Linked DNA regions of Homo sapiens: region 2 is linked to region 1. Evidence: promoter capture Hi-C in 16 types of primary human blood cells and fetal thymus (Javierre and others, 2016). All regions are on one chromosome and are shown on one strand. Each heading gives the region's core, a stretch centred on a gene start or on the middle of the fragment in contact. The rest is flanking DNA. Distances are from core to core; before and after follow the strand shown. Region 1 holds the start of KCNT2 (potassium sodium-activated channel subfamily T member 2). Region 2 holds the start of LOC124904597 (LINE-1 retrotransposable element ORF2 protein-like).

Region 1 (4,868 bases), core at 939-3,438:
GGCCACTCAGCTAGTGAAGGAAACAGCCAAGGACTGAATCTGGGTTTCTCTGATTCCAAGTATCTTGCCTTCAAAGATTAACAACAAATGGAACCAAAACCAAAGAATAGTTTTCCATGAAGCCACAAAAGTAGCCAAATCCTTAAAAATGGTTGAATGATTGTTTTAAATATTTAATAACTTATTTTAGTAGTAAATGTGGCCTGCTTTTTAAGTTAAAGTTGGGCTAGCATAACCTTTTAATAGAACATAAAATTTTAACCATTCTGCAAAACTTTTTTAATATGGCACTGATCCATTTAGGCAGTGTTCAACTAACCAAAATTCTTAATTACTAAAATATTTCTGCAGCATCCTTAGAAAAATGAGGGCAACCACATGAAAATTAACATATTGGATATGATATTTAAAACAAACAAACAACAATACCATCACTATAACCAAAGTATGTGCTTTATGTGTTTAATCTATCTCACACTTTCTACAAAGAGGATTTCTATTCTATATAATGATCCTGAGGTCCTGAACTAAATATACATTCAGTCACTAGGAACACCATGCTACACTTACTAAGCCATTTAACCAGGCTAATGCAGTTTATCTAAATGTCAATTTGTATTACAAATTCACTTAAAAATTATTTTCTTTATCTTCAGTTTACCCAAACACTTTACAAGAATACTGAGAAATTGGTATTACTTCTTTAAATTTTTAGCCAATATGTGTGGTTTTGCCTAAAAAAGAGATTGAACCAAAATATCCTCTACAAAACATCCATCTCCTTTCAAATTACTAATATGAGACCAAACAAGATGCCCATAATTGATGCTCAAGATAAAATCCTCAGTGTGTAGAGACAGGAGTTGGTATTGGGAGCTGAAAAGGTGAAGAAAAGAAATAGAGTGTATTGGTCAGTGGTGAATGAGGAGGGGATTTTGGATTGGACCAATAATGGATCTTTTATATAACTAAAATAGCACATCAATACTAAACTAAACTTCAATGAAACATTTCAATTGAGTTGAGAACCTAGTTAGTATACATGTATTATTTTAAAACAAAGAAATGTGGCATGTGATATATGGGATGACTATTCCAGAAAATACTAAATTCGCTGAAATACAAAATGTGCTTGAGACAGAAATAGACAGAGGAATTTCAGAAGTTTGTGCAAAGCAGTAATGCTATAAATAAAACACATGAACAATATTTTGCTAACAATAAATATTCTAGTTTTGAAACTTAATTTTAATTTTGAGACATATATTCTGTTTCAGTTAAAAAAATATACTAGTTATGAAAAGGTTGTATCATGTTATACAAACATCATTATTCATAATGGTCAGAGTCACCTGTTCAAAGTGAGTATATTGTATTAAAAAGGTTGTCATTTTCACTAACTACCTGTTACATATTTAAACCAATTGTCTACTTAAAACTCCAAAATGTTTAAACAGCATAAAATTTCCAGTGCCAAGTAGATACCTACTCAAGACAACACAGACAAGGAGGAGGTAAATAGACTCAGGAGATTTTAAGTTTCTAATGTGCTTTTTCAAACAACTTGCATGCAATTTTGAGTTTGATTAACCACACCTAAGGAAAAAATGCAAATTTTCTGGAAATGATATTGCATACCATTTGGGTGTATTGTACCTCTGATACCAGCCTTATACACATCCTAGAAAAGCACAGATAGACAAAAGAATAAGCACCAAATGAATGCAATAAATACCTTGCAAGAATAAGAAAAGTGTAAAGAAAAAGAGTTCCTTATCTATAGCAACAGTTATATAGAGTCAAAATGGAGAGACAAATCAGAGTCTCTTTTACTCCCTCCCCCAGCCTAGTCTCCCTCTCTGGCTCCGTTTTCCTTTTCTCCCTCCTTTCCCCACTTCGGCCCTCCCATTTCCGTCTCTTTTTCAGCAATATTTACAGAACAATCCTCCACCACACCACTCACCTGTCGTCGTTTTGCCATCCTTGGTCCCCTAGCAGCAAATCTCGAAACCTGTACCTGGGAGGCAGAGGGGGCACTTCGCTCTCCAAATCAACCATCCTTCCTCAAAGAGTGGGAAACATCAAACAACAAATGGAGGAGAGGAGGGAGAAAGAAAGAAAATATTGCGGAGTACAGGGAGAGGACTAACAAGACGCTGTGGCCGAGAGAGGGATGGGAGAAGGGGAAGGGGACAGGGAGGGGGAGGGGGTCCGCTTGGAGCCGGAAGCTAAGGCTTGAAAGGGGGCTGGCTCCTCTTTCCCGAGGGTGTAATGGGGATGATGCAAACCCAACCCAGGAGCAAAAGTCTGGCTCTGACAAGAATCAACGCTGCCAAGGAACCGCCCCCAGGCTCGGCACCGCCTCTGGTCCCCAGGACTAGGGGGAGGCGGGTATAAAAAGTTACTTCGCCGAAAAAGACGCGCGGTGCCTAGAAAGAGGGGAGAGGGGTGGGAGTGAGCGCCGCTTGATGGTGAAGCACTTTCCTTAAAGGCAGTTGCCAGATCCTCCCAGAGGGCAGCCTCCCGGCTACTGTTCCCTCGGGCGGGCTTGCATCCGGCACAGCCCTGAGCTGGCGGGAATCGGGGGCGGTGGGTTTCGGCCCCAGACGCGGCCAACCCGGCTCTCCCCGCAATCTCCCTGTGGAGATGGAGCTGGAGGCCCAGCCAATGAGACTCCCCCTCATTAGCATAGCACAGTGACGGCACGGGGGTGCCTTGGGGACAACCAATGGGGGCGAGCTAATTAGCGGATTGCGGGGCTCCAGACCCTTCTCTGGGAGGAGGGGGGCCAGGGTGCTTGGAGTGTTCCACTATGCCACGAGCTCCCTCGCTTTGATTGCCTTCAGTCCAGGTGGGCGGGATGAAAAAATTGCACGTTTCTGGAAAGGGAATCCCCACTCTCAGCCCCAGGAAAATCCCATTTTTTTCTCACATTCTGAAAGAAGGGAGGTGTTTCCCTGAACTCGGGGAAAAAGAAGGGCCACCTTAGGCCGCTGAAGAGAAGCATTTAGATGACAGGGAAAGCACATGGAAACGCACTGAGGATTTTACAGTGGTGAGTTGCTGTTACTGCTGTCGCTGCTACTAGCAGCGTTGTGGGCTTCCAGGTGGCCTGGCCTCAGCCTTCGGTCCCCTCCTATTAGTGGTTCACACGGAGGAAGAAGTGAGCCCGAGAGAACAGGGTCTGTTTTTCAGTAAGAACCACTGCTTACATGAACCCTGCTACACAAGCTATGGTTCTATTTGCGCTTACCGTTCTTTCCTTCAAAAACTGATTGCATCAGAGTATATACAGACCGAATACCAACCACCTGACAGCCTGGGCCGGAGGATAACCATATGGCTTCTCCTGCCCTTACTTAAGAACCGCTCTGTGTGGAGGAACAAGCTTGTTCCTTGATAAATGGATACGATGTGAGAGACAATAATCAAAGAACATACAGAGGGATTTGGAAATACCTGTGAGGTACACATACTTCTTCGAGGTGGGGGTCAAGGAAGACATTGAAAATGAACCAAGCCTTCTATATTCGTTCGCAGCCTACTTTAGGGAAAAGAGCAAAGGTGAAGCAAGCAGAGAGAATAGTATGAGTAGAGGCATAGGGATTTTTTAGAATATTTGGCTTATCCAGAAAATAGTGATTAATTTGGCATGATTAATGCTCAGTAGAGGTCATGTAGCAGAGGGTTTATTTAAGAAGCTAGAAATGAAGGAAGAAATTACCAAAACTTGTAACATCAAATGAAATACAATGACTACTGAAACCTGAAGAATAGCAGTTGAAATAAAAGTCATACTGTTTGTCTCTGTCTTCAAAATCCTACTCATCCTTCCAGACCCATCTCAAATTACATATCCTCCATTAGATTTCTTGGTTTTTCCAGCTTCTTATGATGTCTTCTTCCTTTGAACCCCTTTGTTTGAACCCTTCATAACCCATGTGAGTATTTTGCCTGGAATGCTTACTATAACCTGACCCGCTATACGATTATCTGTGCGTTTTTCTTTCAACTCTTCCCCTCTCCCTGTGGCTTAGCTGCCTCTAGCACGGGACCTTCAAAATAGCCACATTTCAACAAATAGGTGTGGAGTTGCATTAAAAGCTATTAAATCTAGGAAATTAAGCATGTTTTTTTCCATCCATGCTTGCACTCCTGTGGTATGTGTTTGTTTATGAAATCATAATTTAGCACGAACTTTTGTAATTACTTTGCTAAATAAGAAAGTAATATTGCTACATTATTAGTTTATACAGATAGAGATAGAGAGAGAGATCTGGTTTATATTTTAGACCTTATCATCTCCTATTAAAATGATTCTATTAATTTTATTTGTAATGTTCCAAGTTAATATTTATAGTTACAGTCTAACTGTATTATTTGGATGACAGAAAATCTGAAATATTTACATATCATTAACAGACTAAAAATCAAGACACTGAAAAAAGAAAAAAAATAGCAATCGATTGTTAGTCCTGGGATGCTGGAGGTTAGAGGGTAAAGTAACATTTTACTTAAAAGAAAGCTATGTGCCTCTATTTTACCTTTTGTGAAAATCTTAGTCATTTGGCTTCCAAATACTCAGATAAAAGTTTAGGAGAGAACAAATAGTACATTAAAAATAAATAAATAAGAAAAAACCTACTCAGCTAATACTGTGTGCCATTATGGATACAAACTATACAAAGTAATGTGCTCAGGGCAACCAATTGGAAACTACCACATTGATGATATTTTGATTCTCTGGTGTGTCTTGAAATTGTCCAAGTGAATTTTTTTTACTATAAACTTAAGAAAATTAGAAGAATAATGTATTATAGGAAATGCTATTGATATGGTTTGGCTCTGTGTTCCCACCCAAATCTCAT
Region 2 (4,868 bases), core at 1,697-4,196, 240 kb before region 1:
AAAATATGAAAGCATAGTTTCTTTGCTATGTATAATTTTTAATGATAATCACAAATCTGTGACAAAATGACAGAAACTGTATTGACTACTCCAAAATGTTTTATAAACCACTCTTCCCTTGCCTTTCTCTATTAAAAAGCTATAAATCTAAAATACTTAATGTTTCAGGATGCTTGAGATATGTCTGGAAACATGTGACAGGGCTCTGACCAATTATATGTTAAAAGGCAATGAGTGGGACTCATGGAAAGCCTTAAATATAGCCTCAGTTGGCAATAATCTGCCCCTTTGACATTCTTCCATCTTCTTACCTAGAAGACTAGCCTGAAGCAGAGAATGCATTTTACGATTACAATAAGAGAATCCTGAAGGGTAAAGACTATAGGGTAAAGATGTTGGAATAAGAAAACAGAACAACGTGCTCTGATGACGTCACTGAGTCAGATAGCCTGCTCTGGATGCTGAACCCATAGTTTTTAAGGTGTAAACTAAACACCACCCCTACTTTCAGTGAGATATTACATTACATGGGGCAGAACACATTTTTAACTAATGCAATATTCCTTATTCCACAGAAATAAAATTAGTGTAAATCACCACTTGCCTCACCCATTACTTCCTAAGGAATAAATGATTTTCCCTTTATCATGCAGAAGCATTCCAGTCTCCGGATCTCATCCTTTACTCCCTCACTGCGTTTTCAATCTCTTTTTCTTTAGTGGTACTTAAAATTTAAACATTAAAAGCAAACAAAAATAGATAAATACTTGTGTACATAGAAAAAGCTTTCCTTAACATTTCTGTGCAATAGGACTTCCATTATTTTTCTTTCTTCGATTAATGAACAAACCTAATGAAGTAGCAATCTCCAACCACACTTCATTTCTTATCATTCCTTAATTTGTTCATATTTTCTCACAATAAGAAAATCCCCATTGTAGAAATTGTTTTTTCAGAAGTCCTCAGAGAACAGCCTCCAAAATGCTTGCTCAGTCTTAATCTAGAATCATCTATGTTGTTAACAATCCAGTTCCTTTTAGAAATCCTATCTCAGTGTTATTTTATTATGCTATACTATATTTGCTTTCCTTTTCTTCACTCTATTTCCTAGAATTAATAAATTCCTAGAAAATAGTCTCAAATTGTCATTTCTCCCAAATCCCTACTACTTCCTCCTTCACATTTGTGAGCCTGACTGGCACGATCCACCACCTCAGGAACCAAGCGTGCAGCAATTCCTACCACATTATGTCTTCATCAGAAAGCAAATACATCCAATATCAAACCACTTTTCCTTCTGCCAACTATGTACTTCATTATTTTCTACTGTCCAGTGTCAATAAGTGAGGAGATTTTCTTTTTTTCCCCCTCTCTCTTTTCTACACTCATATCTAATCAGTGGCAAACTTCTGTGAATTCTAACTAAGCAGTATTTTTCTTATCAATTCTCTCTTTTTCTTACCCCTCGATTATTACTGAGGTGAAAAAGATTACCTCATGGATGGGACTAATTAAGTATTGTGAAAACAAATTGAAAGACAAAGAAAATGAATTGCTAAATTTTTAAAATTCTGATAAAGCTGAAATGTAATCAGGATGGGCCAGTTGAATGTTAACAAACTGGACTGATAATCCAGCATTTCCTTGTGGAAATCATTATAGTCCATGTTCAAAGGTGATTTTTTCTAAAGAATAAATTTTTTTTTATTTATTTTTGTTTTTTTATTATTATACTTTAAGTTTTAGGGTACATGTGCACATTGTGCAGGTTAGTTACATATGTATACATGTGCCATGCTGGTGTGCTGCACCCACTAACTCGTCATCTAGCATTAGGTATATTTCCCAGTGCTATCCCTCCCTCCTCCCCCCACCCCACAACAGTCCCCAGAATGTGATGTTCCCCTTCCTGTGTCCATGTGATCTCATTGTTCAATTCCCACCTATGAGTGAGAATATGTGGTGTTTGGTTTTTTGTTCCTGCGATAGTTTACTGAGAATGATGATTTCCAATTTCATCCATGTCCCTACAAAGGACATGAACTCATCCTTTTTTATGGCTGCATAATAATCCATGGTGTATATGTGCCACATTTTCTTAATCCAGTCTATCATTGTTGGACATTTGGGTTGGTTCCAAGTCTTTGCTATTGTGAATAATGCCGCAATAAACATATGTGTGCATGTGTCTTTATAGCAGCATGATTTATAGTCCTTTGGGTATATACCCAGTAATGGGATGGCTGGGTCAAATGGTATTTCTAGTTCTAGATCCCTGAGGAATCACCACACTGCGAAGGACATGAACAGACACTTCTCAAAAGAAGACATTTATGCAGCCAAAAAACACATGAAAAAATGCTCACCATCACTGGCCATCAGAGAAATGCAAATCAAAACCACAATGAGATACCATCTCACACCAGTTAGAATGGCAATCATTAAAAAGTCAGGAAACAACAGGTGCTGGAGAGGATGTGGAGAAATAGGAACACTTTTACACTGTTGGTGGGACTGTAAACTAGTTCAACCATTGTGGAAGAATAAATTTATTTTCATTGAGAATAAACTTATTTTTGACAAGATTGCCAAATAAATAAAAATGCTAATTTAATCAACAATAAGACATACCACTGCCAAGAGCACAGAACACTCAAATGTAAATAAAGTGAGCGGGTCTGAAAAATGAGGAAAAAAATTGAGAAGCATTAAAATACAGAATAAACTCTCTAAAAATATAAATTACACAGTTCTATGAAGTCATCTAATTTATTTATGACTGACAGATCAGCTAGAACTGGAATTAACATAATAACAAATAGAAAAAGAAAATGTTATATTGTAAGAGTTTTAATCAGCCTTGGGAATTGTATTAGTCAGAGTACTGGGTAAGTTGCTGGAGAGACCACTTCATGCCCACTAGGATGGTTATGATAAAAAAAAGCGCGGATAATTACGAATACTGCTGATGATGTAAAGAAAGTAGCATCCTGATATATTGATGATGATAATCAAAGTGCTATTGGAAAAATATTCTGACAGTTCCTAAAGAAGCTAAACAGAGTGACCATACGACCCAGCAATTCTACTCCTAGATATAGACGCAAGAAAATGAAAGCCTATGTTACACAAAAACCTTTTCACAAATGTTAACAGCAGCATTGTGAAAATGTTAGAAGCAACCCAAATACCCACCAACTGATGAGTGGAAAAATAAAATGTGATATATCCATGCAATGGAATATTATTCAGTTGTAAAAAGGAATAAAGTGCTGGTGCATATTACAATATGAATGAACCTTGAAAAACATTATGTACAATGTTCAACATTTGGGTGACCAGTACACTAGAAGCCCAATCTCTACCATTATGCAATGCACCCAAGTAACCAACATGCACATATATCCCCTGAATCTAAAGCAAAACCAAATTATTTAAAATTCTTTACGTTCATTTATTTACTGTATTACCAAATATACTAAAATGATTTCAGCTGAGCCTAATGGCTCAGGTCTGTAATTCCAGCACTTTGGAAGGCCAAGTCAGATGGATCACTTGAGCCCAGGAGTTCGAGACTAGCCTGGGCAACATGGCAAAATCCCGTCACTACAAAAAAAAAAAAAAAAAAAAAAAAAAAAAGCCTGGCATGGTGGTTCATGACTATAGTCCCAGCTACTGTGGAGGCTGCAGTAAATCTATAAAAGCAGAAATAGATTGTGGTTGCCTAGGGCTGCAAGAATTGGTGGGGGGAAAATGTAGGGTGATGCTAAAGGGTAGATAATTTCTTTATGTGGTTCTGGAATCATTTAATGGTGATGGTTGGATAATTCTATGAATATACTTTTAACATATTGAATTGTACACTTTAAATGGGTGAATTGTATAGTATGTAAGTTTTATTTCAATAAATCTACTATAAGAAGTTATTATGGTGGATGATAGCATTTACTGTGACACAGTTGTAAAATAATTTTGCAAGTCACTCTTATTTAAAGGAAATCCTTAATTATATAACAATGTTTTCAACAACATTGCTTTCTTTTTTAATAAGGCAAAATTCATTAGAGTATGTTGGGAAACGTCTTATTCTAAGGATCACTAAAATCTTTTTTTAACTTATGTGAAGTATAATTCTTTTTCACCAGGCAATACTGTTTGTCAATAAATAATATTTACTAGGAGATGCACAACGAAATTTAACTTCAGTCATGAGTAATGAGCTGTGTTATATAGTGTTTATGGGACTTATTTTATCACTCATGTATACAACAATGAAGTTGCCTAGATAGTCATCATTACAGTTGTCTGAGTCTGTACGAAGACGTTACGGAAAAATAATGAAGACACTTGATGAGTTCTATGAATGTTCACTTAATTGGTGTTAAAATAATTTTTAGTACTTTATTTAATTGCATCAAAATGACAAACACTTTCTGCAAAGAAGATAAACGTCATTCCTAATCCTGTTACATCCTTCCTATTGCACAGATTAAAGGCTTGTAAGTATATAGAATAGAAATATTCCTATTCACAACTTTGAGAAAATTGCTCCTAAGAAACTTTTACCATCCCAATTAGGCAGTCAGAAGTAAGACAGTAAAATCTAATTTATATAACACTGAGTATTTACTACTTTTAAATTAACAACTTATCCATCTATAAATAAATCTCAAAAAAGAATTTTCCTTTTTCTGGATTTATTTGATTTGACACTTCACCTAAACAATTATCAATTAACTTACTTAATATGAGTAATCATAACCACTAGCATAAGTGGAATTTACTTCGAAAATCAACATTTTGTCTGAAATATAAGATTAGAAATATGACAAGATATGAAATGAAGTACATTTGTCTCTTTAAATAAG

What was found. The method cuts DNA at HindIII sites, captures the fragments that hold promoters and counts their contacts. A CHiCAGO score of 5 or more calls a contact.
Region 2: a contact is called between a fragment that was not itself captured here and the fragment with the promoter of KCNT2 in region 1, in 2 of 17 cell types (megakaryocytes and endothelial precursors). The highest score is 8.2, in megakaryocytes.

The regions. Positions count from the first base shown.
Region 1 is chr1:196,606,252-196,611,119 of GRCh38, forward strand. KCNT2 (potassium sodium-activated channel subfamily T member 2) reads right to left here and starts at 2,189. Exons shown (of 28, transcript NM_198503.5): 1 at 1,964-2,189. The coding sequence starts at 2,058. RefSeq lists an enhancer at 2,524-3,040. The HindIII fragment of the contact is 4,315 bases long and covers 1-3,386 here.
Region 2 is chr1:196,367,611-196,372,478 of GRCh38, forward strand. All of the region lies in intron 14 of KCNT2 (potassium sodium-activated channel subfamily T member 2), which reads right to left. It overlaps LOC124904597 (LINE-1 retrotransposable element ORF2 protein-like), which reads right to left and starts at 3,568. Exons shown (of 2, transcript XR_007067045.1): 1 at 1-3,568. The HindIII fragment of the contact is 4,326 bases long and covers 784-4,868 here.